Regions from separate parts of the Homo sapiens genome. Here regions 1, 2, 3 and 5 are each linked to region 4. The links are contacts of gene promoters, found by promoter capture Hi-C in blood cells and fetal thymus (Javierre and others, 2016). All regions are on one chromosome and are shown on one strand. The core of a region is centred on a gene start or on the middle of the fragment in contact, and the rest is flanking DNA. Distances in the headings are between cores, read along the strand shown. Region 1 has its middle 15 kb from the start of INTS6-AS1. Region 2 overlaps INTS6 (integrator complex subunit 6). Region 3 overlaps INTS6 (integrator complex subunit 6). Region 4 holds the start of UTP14C (UTP14C small subunit processome component). Region 5 overlaps INTS6 (integrator complex subunit 6).

Evidence for each region. The method cuts DNA at HindIII sites, captures the fragments that hold promoters and counts their contacts. A CHiCAGO score of 5 or more calls a contact.
Region 1: a contact is called between a fragment that was not itself captured here and the fragment with the promoter of UTP14C in region 4, in 1 of 17 cell types (neutrophils). The highest score is 5.8, in neutrophils.
Region 2: a fragment that was not itself captured here is called in contact with the fragment with the promoter of UTP14C in region 4 in 1 of 17 cell types (non-activated CD4 T cells); the score reaches 5.0 in non-activated CD4 T cells.
Region 3: a fragment that was not itself captured here is called in contact with the fragment with the promoter of UTP14C in region 4 in 1 of 17 cell types (naive CD4 T cells); the score reaches 5.1 in naive CD4 T cells.
Region 5: a fragment that was not itself captured here is called in contact with the fragment with the promoter of UTP14C in region 4 in 1 of 17 cell types (neutrophils); the score reaches 7.5 in neutrophils.

Annotation. Positions count from the first base shown.
Region 1 is chr13:51,466,954-51,469,653 of GRCh38, forward strand. No RefSeq gene overlaps it. Among named protein-coding and RNA genes, the nearest start is that of INTS6-AS1, 15 kb to the left of the region's middle. The HindIII fragment of the contact is 4,257 bases long and covers 1-2,700 here.
Region 2 is chr13:51,407,721-51,410,420 of GRCh38, forward strand. The region is part of intron 4 of INTS6 (integrator complex subunit 6); the gene reads right to left. Among named protein-coding and RNA genes, the nearest start is that of INTS6, 44 kb to the right of the region's middle. The HindIII fragment of the contact is 1,192 bases long and covers 799-1,990 here.
Region 3 is chr13:51,441,937-51,444,636 of GRCh38, forward strand. All of the region lies in intron 3 of INTS6 (integrator complex subunit 6), which reads right to left. Among named protein-coding and RNA genes, the nearest start is that of INTS6, 9.7 kb to the right of the region's middle. The HindIII fragment of the contact is 387 bases long and covers 1,062-1,448 here.
Region 4 is chr13:52,023,330-52,026,218 of GRCh38, forward strand. It overlaps UTP14C (UTP14C small subunit processome component), which reads left to right and starts at 1,362. Exons shown (of 2, transcript NM_021645.6): 1 at 1,362-1,608. It overlaps ALG11 (ALG11 alpha-1,2-mannosyltransferase), which reads left to right. Exons shown (of 4, transcript NM_001004127.3): 3 at 677-1,608. The HindIII fragment of the contact is 12,744 bases long and covers 1-2,889 here.
Region 5 is chr13:51,425,637-51,428,418 of GRCh38, forward strand. All of the region lies in intron 4 of INTS6 (integrator complex subunit 6), which reads right to left. Among named protein-coding and RNA genes, the nearest start is that of INTS6, 26 kb to the right of the region's middle. The HindIII fragment of the contact is 8,376 bases long and covers 1-2,782 here.

The sequences.
Region 1 (2,700 bases), core at 127-2,626, 560 kb before region 4:
AGGTAAATTAGATCACTAGGAGTTGTAGTGAATGAAGTCAGAGAATATATAACTTCTCTTTTTGCACAAAAAAAGATAAAGGAAAAACTCTAATATGTTTTTAGGTAGAAAAAGAGCAAGGAAAAACTGAGGCTGTGAGAAAGGTATAATTGGTATGGCAGGTCTCTGGAGCAGGAGAGGACAGGGTCAGCTTCATAGATGGGGTCATTAGGATGTGAAAGATGGAGCAATGACTTCTCTGAGACCAGAAATAATAACAAGAATACAAGCAAAGTAACTAGCACAATTCCCAGTGTGATGGTTAATTTTATGTGTCAACTTGACTGGATCACAGGATACCCAGGTATTTGCTCAAACATTATTCTTGGTCTGTCTATGAGGGTGTTTCTGGATGAAATTAACATTTGAATCTATAGACTGAGTAAAGCAAACTGCCATCCCTAATGTGGGTGGACCTCACGCAATCAGTTGAGGGCTAAATAGAACAAAAAGGCTAAGTAAGAGAGAGTTCCTTCTGCCTGACTGCCTTTGAGCTGGAACATTGGTGTTTTTCAGGCTCAAACTGTAATACTGGCTCTTCTCAGGTCTTGAGCCTACTTGCCTTCAGATTGGAACTTTACCATCTGCTCTCCTGGTTCTCAGGCCTTCAGGGGAGTCTAGAACTATGCCACTGACTCTCCTGGTCTCCAGTTTTTCAACTTCAAATCTTGGGATTTAGTCTCGATGATCATGTGAGTCAATTCCGTATAATAAATCTCAGACAGATAGATAGATAGATAGATAGATAGATAGATAGATAGATAGATCGATAGATAGATCTATCTTTCATTGCTTTTGTTTCTCTGGAGAACCCTAATATAACCAGTATTTAGTAAATGTTTAATGTGTGTTGAATGACAATTATAGAGGAAATCAGAAGTGGAGAGGATGTATGCAGAGGGAGCTGTGAGAAGTGGACAGCTGCCCACACTAACCAGTGAGACTAAAGACCCAGCCAAGTTCTTCAGGGAGATTGCTTTGGTAGCTATGGGAATAATATGGACAAGCAAGCAAGTCATCTGGACTCTTGATGGGCTGAGATGCCACGCTGGCAAGCAGGTGGTCAACCTCTAGGAGATTCAACAAGCATGCCTGTGAGGGTTCAGAGCGCTGTGTCAGGAATGTGATGGGAAGTAACAGGCAAAGGCAAAATATTACTGGTATTAAGGAAATGGCGTTAAAGAAAACGGACACTTCACTGTCTACTTGTGTCAGAGCTTCCCCATGGTCATTTAATCTAACACGCCTGTAAGCTAAGTGTTCCTACTTTTTCAGAAAAAGAAATGGAAACTAAGTAACATGAATTAACATAGTCCAGGGTCACAAAGCAACATGGAACAAGAACCTGGATCTGAATTCAGAGGCAGAATGCTGGGTAAGTATGACGATGCTTATTGTTGGCCCACCTGTGGGAATTGGGGGTTAGGGACAGGTTTCCCAACCTTGTGATGACTATAGGAACCGGGATTCAAGGGAGACACAGGCATAAAGGAAGATGTCAGGGAGACCATCAACAAAGTATCATGTAAGGCAGGAATTTGCTCACAGGAAAATGGGAAGGATAAAAGGGGACGTTAGTGAGAATGTCATTTTAATATTCAGTTCACTAATCTCCAAAGACCGATGTTCTAAAAGAAAGTGTGAATAAAATAGTTTAACATCTTATTATGCAATATCTATCACTGATGATAGGCACATAAGGAGTTCTCGTTACATCTACTTAATTTGCCAGATTAACTGATGCTCCTTGTTCCTTCTTTCTTTACTTTTTCTTTTTAGAGATAGGGTCTTGTTCTGTCGCCCAGGCTTGGGTGCAATGGCATGATCACAGCTCACTGCAGCCTCGAACTCCTGGGCTCTAGTGATTCTCTTGCCTCAGCCTCCCTTGTAGTTGGACTACAGGTACAAATCACCATGTCTGGCTCTTGTTCTTTAACACATGCTTGTAGCTCAAAACTAGTAGAATTCCCTCTGATACATTTGTGAACCTCTGCTCCTACTACAAGTTTTATGCTACTGAAGTCAGTTGCCTTTTTCTCAAACCTGCTTATACCAATTAAACTTGTTATTGAAATTAATTAATTAAATAGGTAAACCAGTGAAATATGAAACAAAAGTCAGTCACTAAAGAAATTACTGGCAAATTAAGTATAAGCAAAACAACTGCAAAAGTCTCGAAAAAGTGAGTAGAAATTTACAGATATTTTGTTGGCAAATGAAATACATTTGTAGTTTAAGTTAAAATTTAAAATTAAAGATATGTATGTATCATTTTTAAATTTCTCTGTTTAAATTGACTTTTTCCCTTCACCAATCACAATATCAGTGTTGGATAAGGGAACTTTCACTATATCCTGTGTTGTATTTGTATGGTACTTTTGATCATTCTTTTAATAAAAGCACAATCTATCTAGAAAAGCAAAAATAAAGACTGGAGTCCATGTTCTTTTAGTGACTCCATTCAGCACTTTCATGTGAATTCTCAGTACTGCATCTATTACTACATATCTTCGTAAACTGTTCCTCTAACTCTTAGGGAGAATATGATTCTTACATACTAAAGTTTGTATCATGAACATTTATGGCTCACTTGTATTCACAAGATTATGAGGAATTATGCATTCAGGAGCAGGTTAGGTTGTCATCATCATTGTTTTTTCA
Region 2 (2,700 bases), core at 145-2,644, 620 kb before region 4:
ATACATACACCATAAGAGTGTTTCTGTACGGTATGGCCAGGCATAGTGGTTCATGCCTAAATCCCAGCAATTTGGGACTTGAGGCCAGGAGTTTGAGACCAGTCTGGCCAACACAGCAAAAGCTCGTCTGTACTAAAAATACAAAAATTAGCCAGACATGGTGGCACACGCCTGTAATCCCAGCTACTCGGGAGGCTGAGGCTGGAGAATCGCTTGAACCCAAGAGGCAGAGGTTGCAGTGAGCCAAGATCGTGCCACTGCACTCCAGCCTGGGCAACAGAGTGAGACTCGGTCTCAAAAAAAAAAAAAAAAGTACAATAACATTTTCAATGCTAAAGTATAACTATAGATAATTGTTAAATAATAGCCCAAATTATTCAGAATCTACCATAAAACATTTAGACTAGAATAAACCATTGAGATGGGTTTTTTTTTTTTTTGAAATGGAGTTTCGCTCTTGTTGCCCAGGCTGGAGTGCAGTGGTGCAATCTCGACTCACTGCAACCTCTGCCTCCCAGGTTCAAGTGATTCTCCTTCCTCAGCCTCCCGAGTAGCTGGGATTACAGGCGCCTGCCACCATGCCCAGCTAACTTTTTGTATTTTTAGTAGAGACGGGGTTTCACTATGTTAGCCAGGCTGGTCTTGAACTCCTGACCTCAGGTGATCCACCCTCCTTGGTGTCCCAAAGTGCTGGGATTACAGGCAAGAGCCACTGCACCCGGTCATTGAGTTTTATTAATAAGTCAGAAAGTTCATTTAAAGCACATTGGCCAGGAATCTTAAAAATTATAAAGGAAAAGCTTTGAATCATTTTGGAGAGCCATTATTTTTCCAGGTAACTGAGAGCACTTAATGCCTCAAGCACAAAAACATCAACAGAAACCTTCTGTAGTATGTTATGTATGTCCCTATTTGTGAAACTAGGTTGTATTAAAAAATAATAATCTCTTTCTTGATAACTCAAAGAAGTAGGAAAAAAACTTAAAGACCTTTTGACCACACCAAATATTGCCCATAATCACACAAGTTAAGAGACTGATAATTCATCATTTACTGAATGCTTATAATGTGACAAGGTTTCAATGAGTTACCTTGCTTTAATCATCTTATTTAATCCTCCAACAAACCTAAAACCTATAACTTAAATTCTAAGGTGTATCATCACTTTAATATATTTCTTTGCTTCCCCAAATTTAACATTAAATGTGCATAAAAATTTTTCCAACTATAGCATAAAATTATCTAGGCAGCTGCATATCCCTTTCTTCTTCCATATCATAGCTCCATAGCATTTGAGTATCACAGAGTTTGAGTCTACGCCTTCCCCAGACTAAGTCTACTAATTAAATTCCTTTTGGCCATTAGAAGTTAAGCAGAGCATCAGGGTCATATTTTATAACGTGTGCTTAATGATCTTGACCTTTTTAGCACCATGAGTTTGAAAAATGTAATTTCAGCTGGGCACAGTGGAGGCAGAGGTTGTAGTGAGCCGAGATTGCACCACTGCACTCCAGCCTGGGTGACAGAGTGAGAATCCGTCTCAAATAATAATAATAATAATAATAATAATAATAATAATAATAATAATAATAATAGTATAACTTCAAGGTATACTAAAGACTCTGAGTATTTCATTCGTACTTTCTAGGAGAATATTTATATTCTTATTTCAATTACAAACTACCAGCCAATATAACACTTATCTTTTAAATGTTGGCTTTGGACAGATATTAGATTCCTCAGTAACAGTTTTTCATAGTCAGTGAAACAGTTATGATACCATCTCATAGCTTTGATAGTTTTATTTGTTTTCTCAGAAATTTGGCAATGTCAACTGCCTTTATTTGTGCTGTCTGATATAGGTTAGGTAATTTATTATTTGTATTTTTTTTGTTACAATGCTAATTCATCATAGGTAGTATTTTTTTTAATTTTAAGGAACAATTGGTGTTCCTTAAAATTAAATGTTAATGTTAACAAATTAATGTTAAGCTTCTAGATTTCAAGACAAGACAACAATGTCCATTCTCACTACTTCCACCAGTACATTGAAGCAAGAAAAAGAAATAAAAGGCAGACAGATTTGGAAAGGAAGAAGTGTACCTGTCTATATTCAGACAAGATGATTTTGTACGTAAAAAGCTTCAAGGAATCTAGAAAAGCTACTAGGTAACAAGAAAATTTAGAAAGGTCACAGGATACCAGGTAAAGATGCAAAAAAATCAACTGTTTATGTACTAACAACAAATCATCAGAAGTTGAAAGTAAAAAGACCAATCAATAATAACATCAAAATATATAAAATACCCAACATATGTATAAACTCCCATCTGAAAACTACAAATATTGCTGAAAAAATCAAACACTTAAATCTGAAAAATATGCCATGCTCATGGATCAGAATAGCCAATAAGGTAAAAAGTGTCATTTTTCCCTCAAACTGATTTATAGATTCAATGTAATTCCAATAAAAATTGCAGTAAGCTTTCTTATAAAAACTAATAAACCTGATTCTAAATTTACATGTAAACTCAAAGGACCTAGAATAAACAAAGCAATTTGGATAAAAACAAAGTTGGAGACTTAACTAAATGATTTCAAAACTCGTTATAAAACCACAGTAGTTGACACCATGTTGTATTGCCGAAGACACAGGTTATCAACAAAACAGAATAGAAAGTCCAGAAACAGCCACACAAA
Region 3 (2,700 bases), core at 5-2,504, 580 kb before region 4:
CAGCCACCTGAGTAGCTGGGATTGCAGGCGTGCACCACCATGCCTGGCTAATATTTGTGTTTTTGGCAGAGATGGAGTTTTACCAGGTTGGCCAGGCTGGTCTTGAACTCCTGGCCTCTAGTGATCCTCCCTCTTCAACCTCCCAAAGTGCTGGGATTACAGGTGTGAGCCACAGGGACAGCCTCTCCTATGTTTTTGACCATGATTTTTTTTTTTTTTTGAGATGAAGTTTCGTTCTTGTCGCCCAGGCTGGAGTGCAATGGCGCAATCTCAGCTCACTGCAACCTTTGCCTCCTGGGTTCAAGCGATTTTCCTGCCTCAGCTTCCTGAGGGTGCCTGTAGCTGGGATTACAGGCGCCCGCCACCATGCCCAGCTAATTTTTGTATTTTTAGTTTCACCATGTTGGCCAGGCTGGTCTCGAACATCTGACCTCAGGTGATCCACCCACCTCAGCCTCCCAAAGTGCTGGGATTACTAGGCATGAACCATCGCATCTGGCCATTGATCATGATCTTCACTCTGCATTGCCCCCTAACCTGCAAGGGTTCTGGGTTCTCAGTAAACTTTTATTCTTCAGATGCTACTACCTCTAAGAAGTCTTTCCTGGTTTATCCCCTAGATCGGGGTCCCCAACCCCTGGACCCCATCAGGAATGGGTGGCACAGCAGAAGGTGAGCAGTGGGCAAGTGAGCATTACCGTTGGGGCTCCGCCTCCTGTTAGATCAGCAGCAGCATTAGATTCTCATAGGAGCACAAACCCTGTTGTGAACTGTGCATGCAAGGGGTCTAGGTTATGCGCTCCTATGAGACTCTAACGCCTGATGACCTGAGGTGGAAAAGTTTCATCTGAAACCATCCCAACCACCTCTACCAATCCATGGAAAAACTGTCTTCCACAAAACCAGCCTGGTGCCAAAGAGGCTGGGGACCGCTGCCCTAAATTCATTTACTTTCTGCCAAACAAAGGGAGGAAGGAATCCAACTAAAGCTAATTTTGTAACAAACAGTATTTAGATAGAATGTTACAAGAAAGACTAAATGTAACAGAGACAAAATGAAAAGCTTAGCTTTCAAACAAGAACTGAAAGAAATCATACTGCATTACAGAACTATACACAAAACTGAAGAAAGCAACTCAGATCCACTGCTTATACATTTAAATAAAATGTTATTAAATAATATACAAATCCTTAATAAAATCTCCATAACTGTTCTATCACCAATTACAATTTTTAAAAATATTTCATAAATGTGAAGAAATTAAGCCTCTGAACCTTTCTATGCCTTTTCTTCACCTACAAAATGAGGAAAATTGAGTAAACTTCTAAAATCACTTCCATTCTAAAGCCCTATGAAAATAATAATAAAACACAGAAAGTTTAATGAAAACTTGTCAGTAGATGCAAATGTTCAATTTTTTTAAGAGTGTATATTTTAAAATTCACTAAGCTTCACACTTCAGATTTGTTTATTTAAGTTACATCTCAATAAAAATGTTAGAGATCAGAAAATACAAACCAAAACAAAATTTTTTAAAAATTTAGTATTTTGTTTAAAGTCTGGCAACCATGGTAAACTTTTATAGACTAATAGTAAGACTAAACAAAAATAAAGTTTATATAAGGAAATTACTTTTTTAAGCTGAGTACAATGGCAAGAGCCTGCAGTCCCAGCTACTCCGAAGGCGTGGTGGAAAGACTGCTTGAGCCCAGGAGTTCAAGACCAGCCTGGGTAACACAGAGAGACTTTGTATCTAAACATTTTTAAAATTAAAAAGCCCCAAAAAACAAGAAAAGTCCACCAAGACTAATTTAATTGTAGAGTATAAATCTGAGTCAAGGTTATTATGGCCAAAAATCATTTTATATATTTGAGAAACATTTCAAGCTATAAAATACTATATAATCTCTTTGTAGAAATCTATGACATGAACATGACTAAATAAACAATCCTTTTAACTAATTTTGACCACAAATGACCTTAATTCAAAATACACAAATAAGTCCAATGATGTCAAATATTAGATTTGTTCCTGATCTTTTAATTTCCAGCTGTATATAATACATAATTATCGATATTCTCCTATATCGAAAGAAAGTAAAATGCTCTTTAAAGTAGAATATATTATTTGGTTTTTTGTTTGTTTTTGTTTTGTTTTGTTTTTTTGAGACAGCCTATTGCCCAAGTTGGAGTGCAGTGGCACCATCTCAGCTCACTGCAACCTCCACCTCCGGGGTTCAAGCAATCCTCCAACCAGGACTCCAGGAGTCCTGAGTAGCTAGGACTACAGGCACATGCCACCACCCCCCAGCTAATTTTTTTTTTTTTTTTTTTTTTTTTTTTTTTTAGTAGAGATGGGGTTTCACCACATTGTCTAGGCTGGTCTCAAACTCCTGACCTCAAGTGATCCACCTGCTTTAGCCTCCCAAAGTGTTGGGATTACAGGTGTGAGCCATGGCACCCGGCCTATTTTTGACTTTTGTATTTAAGATTTGTTTTGAACAATTTCTAATTAAGAATGCAATAATGGCCAGGGGCGGTGGCTCACGCCTGTAAATCCCAGCACTTTGGGAGGCCGAGGTGGGCGGATCACCTGAGGTCAGGAGTTTCAGACCAGCCTGGCCAACATGGCGAAACCCCGTCTCTACCAAAAATACAAAAATTAGCCGAGGGTGGTGGCGGGAGCCTGTAATCCCAGC
Region 4 (2,889 bases), core at 112-2,611:
GAACTAGAAGTCATGGTCTCATTTGAAGGACTGTACTTCTAATTCAATAAAAAATGTAGAAAACATCATTTTTAGTATGACCAACATGGAGAAACCCTGACTCTACTAAAAATACAAAATTAGCCGGGCGTGGTGGTGCATGTCTGTAATTCCAGCTACTCGGGAGGCTGAGGCGGGAGAAGCACTTGAACCCGGGAGGCAGAGATTGTCAGCCAAGATGGCGCCATTGCACTCCAGCCTGGGCAACAAGAGTGAAACTGTCTCCAAAAAAAAAAAAAAAATCAAATCTTCTTTATAACTGTAAGAAAATAGTTATCTACAACTTTTTGCTTGATTTTAACCTAATATATTCTTTTTTTTGTTTTTGTTTTTGTTTTTTTGAGACGGAGTTTCACACTTGTTGCCCAGGCAGGAGTGCAGTGATGCAGTCTCGGCTCTCAGTCTCTCAGGGTAGGTAGCAGGCTTTTTTTTTTTTTTTTTTTTGAGATGGAGTCTCACTCTGTCACCCAGGCTGGAGTTCGGTGGCATGATCACGGCTCACTGCAACCTCCGCCTCCTGGGTTCAAGCGATTCTCCTGCCTCAGCCTCCTGAGTAGCTGGGATTACAGGTGCGTGCCACCGTGTCTGGCTAATTTTTGTAACTTAATATATTCTTAACCATTACATTCTATTTTAGGTATCCTGAAGCAGTTTATGTTGTTTATACCGGCGATGTTAATGTCAACGGTCAACAGATACTAGAAGGTGCTTTCAGAAGATTTAACATCAGATTAATTCACCCAGTGCAGTTTGTTTTTTTAAGGAAACGCTATCTTGTGGAAGATTCACTGTATCCTCACTTCACACTGCTGGGCCAAAGTCTAGGATCCATTTTTCTTGGCTGGGAAGCTCTAATGCAGTGTGTTCCTGATGTTTACATTGATTCAATGGGATACGCTTTTACGCTTCCTCTGTTTAAGTATATAGGGGGTTGCCAAGTTGGAAGCTATGTTCATTATCCTACTATCAGCACCGACATGCTCTCTGTAGTGAAGAATCAAAATATTGGATTTAATAATGCAGCCTTCATTACCAGGAATCCTTTTCTCAGCAAAGTAAAGCTCATCTACTACTATTTATTTGCTTTTATTTATGGACTTGTTGGTTCTTGCAGTGATGTAGTCATGGTCAATTCTTCTTGGACACTAAACCATATTCTCTCACTATGGAAAGTTGGGAATTGCACTAACATTGTTTATCCACCTTGTGATGTGCAGACATTTCTGGACATTCCCTTACATGAGAAAAAGATGACCCCAGGACATTTGCTGGTTTCTGTTGGCCAGTTTAGGCCGGAAAAGAATCATCCATTGCAGATCAGAGCCTTTGCTAAATTGCTGAATAAGAAGATGGTTGAGTCACCTCCTTCGCTTAAACTTGTCCTCATTGGAGGTTGTCGTAACAAAGATGATGAACTTAGGGTAAACCAACTGAGAAGGCTGTCTGAGGATTTAGGAGTTCAAGAATATGTGGAATTTAAAATAAACATTCCATTTGATGAATTAAAGAATTATTTGTCTGAAGCAACAATTGGTCTGCATACCATGTGGAACGAGCATTTTGGGATTGGTGAGTTTGGCCTTTAAACAACTTGTTTGGTGCCATGAGATACACATTTTAAGTTCTTTTGATAAAATGATAATACTCTGGAAATCTGCATCATGCCCTAATTCTCTTGCCCTCATCCACCAAATGTGCTTTCCTCACTTGAGACCTTGTAAGATAGTAGTTAATAATAGCAGCTAGTATTTATTGACCAATTCCTGTGTGTGGGCCACTGTGTTGAGATTTTTACATGTATTATCTAATTTAAGCCTTTCTAAACCCGTTTGATAGGTGTTATTGTTATTCCCATTTTATAAATAAAGAAACTCAGGCACAGGAAGGTTTAGAAATTGCTCGAGTTCAGTTACACAGTAAGTGGTAGAGCCCGGATTCTAACCCAGATAGCCCCTGCTCTTAACAGCAACATTTTCTCTCTCCATCTAACCCCACTACATACTTACTGGTACAGATTCCTGGGCCCTACCCTAATCCTACAGAATGGCCAAATGAGAATCTCTGGACAAGGCCCAGGTAGATGTATTTTGATAATGCTGCTTAAGTGATTCTGTTATGCATCAAAAGTTGAGAACCACTGTTTGCATAGGGGCTTCTCACAGTAACTCTTTTAGTCTTTTATTGATTCTACCCTCACCATTGGAATGGCTCTCCTCTTTGTGCCAGATTGCATCATAAGTCTTCAACTTAAATCTCCTTGCACTTTAGCCTTTCTTGTTTATTCTGGCACAAACTGCTATCTCTATTCTGACCTGTTAAGCACACATTTTGCTATAAAATCAAGTACTGCTTTGTGTTTAATTTGGGTCCACATATATTTCTCAAGCGCTTTGTGCCTCACACTGTTAGTTGTTAGGGGAAATGAGGATAACATAAAAGTGACATTTCCTAAACTAAGACTTCAATTTCTCTTATACTCTTTTTACTCCTAGTTAGTAGTGTAGTGCTAGGCCCAGACATTAAGCAAGAACTTGTTGACCCAACCTGTTGCATGGGATCTGACCTCCTGTGCTTCCTTCCATAGAAACTTACTAAGCATTCACTCTGCTGAGCGCTTGGGTGGATGCTAGGGATGTGGTGGAGACAGGAGCTGCTTGGCCTGTCAGAGGCTTCCCACCCTCTGGTGGTACCAACAGGCTACACAGGCAAGTGCCGTGCCGTGCTGTGCCGTGTGCCAGGTGCTATGCTAAGGAAGTGCAGGGTGATGTGAAAGCGCCAAAGAGAAACCTAACACAGACTTGTGCGGGCAGGGAACAGTTGCCCAAGGAAATGATGTGACACTTGAGCAGG
Region 5 (2,782 bases), core at 94-2,593, 600 kb before region 4:
TGAGCAATATTCATTAGCCATGTGTTCCTGGAATCATAGTACAGAATAGTTTTCCATTGCAAAGCAGTACTAGAGAGGATTATCTGCAGATATCAGAAGAAAATCCTTTTCAATAACTCTAATTTGTTGATTCTACCAAAACATTTGATATATCAGTTATATAACATGACAAACAGTACTGAGTATCTGGACACAGGTATGTTTATCAACATCAACGGTAACTACTAAGGAAGTAAGTAATATAGTTTTATCGTGTTTCAGAATTCAAAGTCCTATCAAACACACTCCTCGTAAGTGAAAATGCTACAACCAGTTTTATCAAATAGCTGCATTAAAAAAAAAGCCAAATATATACACATAAAATTCAATCCAAGTAATCATCAGAAATCCTAGACAGTTATCCAAAAAGACTACACTAGAAATACATTCATGACACTTCAGACAATGGCCTGGACTTTTATTAAATGAGGCCCAAGGATATAATTGAAATCATAAATTAATGTAAAATGATCATATACAGCTCAAGATTTTCATTCATAATGTATCTATTACTTTTCTTTCCTAACTCATAACACATTGCTAAGTGACGAGCTGTCCCAGAGAACAGTATTCCTACATTTTTCTGACAAACAAGTTATAAGAAATTGGTTCATTTGGGCCTATACATACTTAGCCAGGTCAAGAGACAATATGGCACCACATTTTTCCTGCCGCTAGGAAAACTATTTTCTAGGCTCAAAACAACTTTACACTGGGCTTCTTCCTAAAATTCACAGATACAAGGTAGGAGCCACACCCTATGCCAAATCATCCATAAGATCCTTGAATTCAGTCATTCAAAAATGAAATTATACTATAAAAATGCACATTATACAAGATTTGACACACGAAAGGTAATATTAACCCTTCCCCTGCTTTAGTACTCCCACACACTTAGTATGTATCCTTATTTTATCATTCATAAAACCATTTAATAGGTGATTTCCCCCATAACACTGTGAACTTAAATATTAAGAACCAGATATGTCCTGTTTATCTTTGTTATCCTCATTGCCTAGAAATGCTCTGGTCATAATAGTTTTTCATGGAACACTGAATAAGAACAGAATACCTAAAAGACACTTACATAGAAAGCTGAAGTAGACAAATAAGAAATCAGATAAATAGAAGGTAAATTTTAAGAACACACAAATTTAGAATCAAGCAAAAAGGCAGCAGCCGTATCAGGAAGAAAGCACTGGTCTGGAGGTGCTGGAATGTCTTTGGAATTGATAAATTCTAATCTAGATTTTGGCAGTAACAAATGTTATAACCTAAGCAAATCACTCTGACTCCCTGGATCTCAATTTTCTCATTTGTAAAATATAAGACTAAATGAGTTCTATATTTCCTCATATGATATAAGGATGATTTTAAAGCAGCAAGAACATTTACTCCTGAAAAACAGCACCAACAGAACAGATATAATATACAATGTTGGATAACATGACTCTTAAGCAAAGGATATCATACAGGTGGAATTATACAACTCCATAAAAAGTAATAGGTCATACCAACACCAGCCACAAGCCAAACAGGAATTATGTACACATATCTCTAATGTGGAAATTAATGACACATTCATACACTGAATAAATCTAAAAAAGAATCAAGTTCTGCCAGAGGCAAAGGTTGAGAGATGTGAAAAGACAGTGATATAAAGGCAAAATTGTTATTCCCTAGTAGGAACCAGAATACAGATCATATCTAGCATTCATGCACGTGCACAATACAAACACAGAAGAACAATACAAAAAGCATCTTTATGCTTTTCTATGAATTGAAAAGCTCCTTAAAACAAATCCCATAATTATTTAGGCTAGAATATTTCACAATATCTCACAACATTTAGCAAAAATTAATCTAGGATAACTTTCTCATTGCTCCAACGAGAGTCTCGTTGGTACATTAAGAAGAAAACACGCAGGGAATCAAAGACATTCCTAACCTTGAAACAACTCACCGGCCTATGTTCCAACTTCAAAATAATTTACTTTTGCTTTAAAACAAATGAACCTTCCACCTCAGATAATAAGGTGCAACGGTAATCAATTTTGAACTCAATGACTACCAGATTCAATACACCAATGTTTATAATCAATACTTTTTAAAAATATAGGCTCTGTTGTCAATACTATGCTAGTATTGTAAAAGATAGAACTAAAAGGTAAAAACTCTGCCCACAGGAAAATCTTCCTAACCTTACTAGCAAGGTAGTTTCAGGTTATAAACACATTGCCCTATTTTTCCAAAATCCTTCCCAAGGAAAGACATAGGAAGAAAGGTGAGCAATTCCAATACACATGTATATTTCAAGATATTTTTAAGCTAGAAGAGGTCTCCACAAAACAAATTTTACAAACAAAACAGATCCAGACATATGGAAACAAAATACATTGTACCCCAAAGGGCATTTCTACAAAGGCAGTAGACAGCACCTCAAATGCATCACCTCGCACATAAGAATACTTTACAACAGAAAACAGAAATAACTTCTCAAGCAAAATCATTATGGATAAAAACAAAACAAACATTCAAAAGACTTTTAATTTATTAATATATAAAGTTGAATGAAGCTGTTAACTATTATGTGTCCTATTAAGAAGAAAAATTAATTTGAGAGCTTCAAATTTAAAATGACTTTTTTTTTCTTTTTTTTTTTTTTTTGAGACGGAGTCTTGCTCTGTTGCCCAGGCTGGAGTGCAGTGGCACGGTCTCAGCTCACTGCAACCTCCACCTCCTG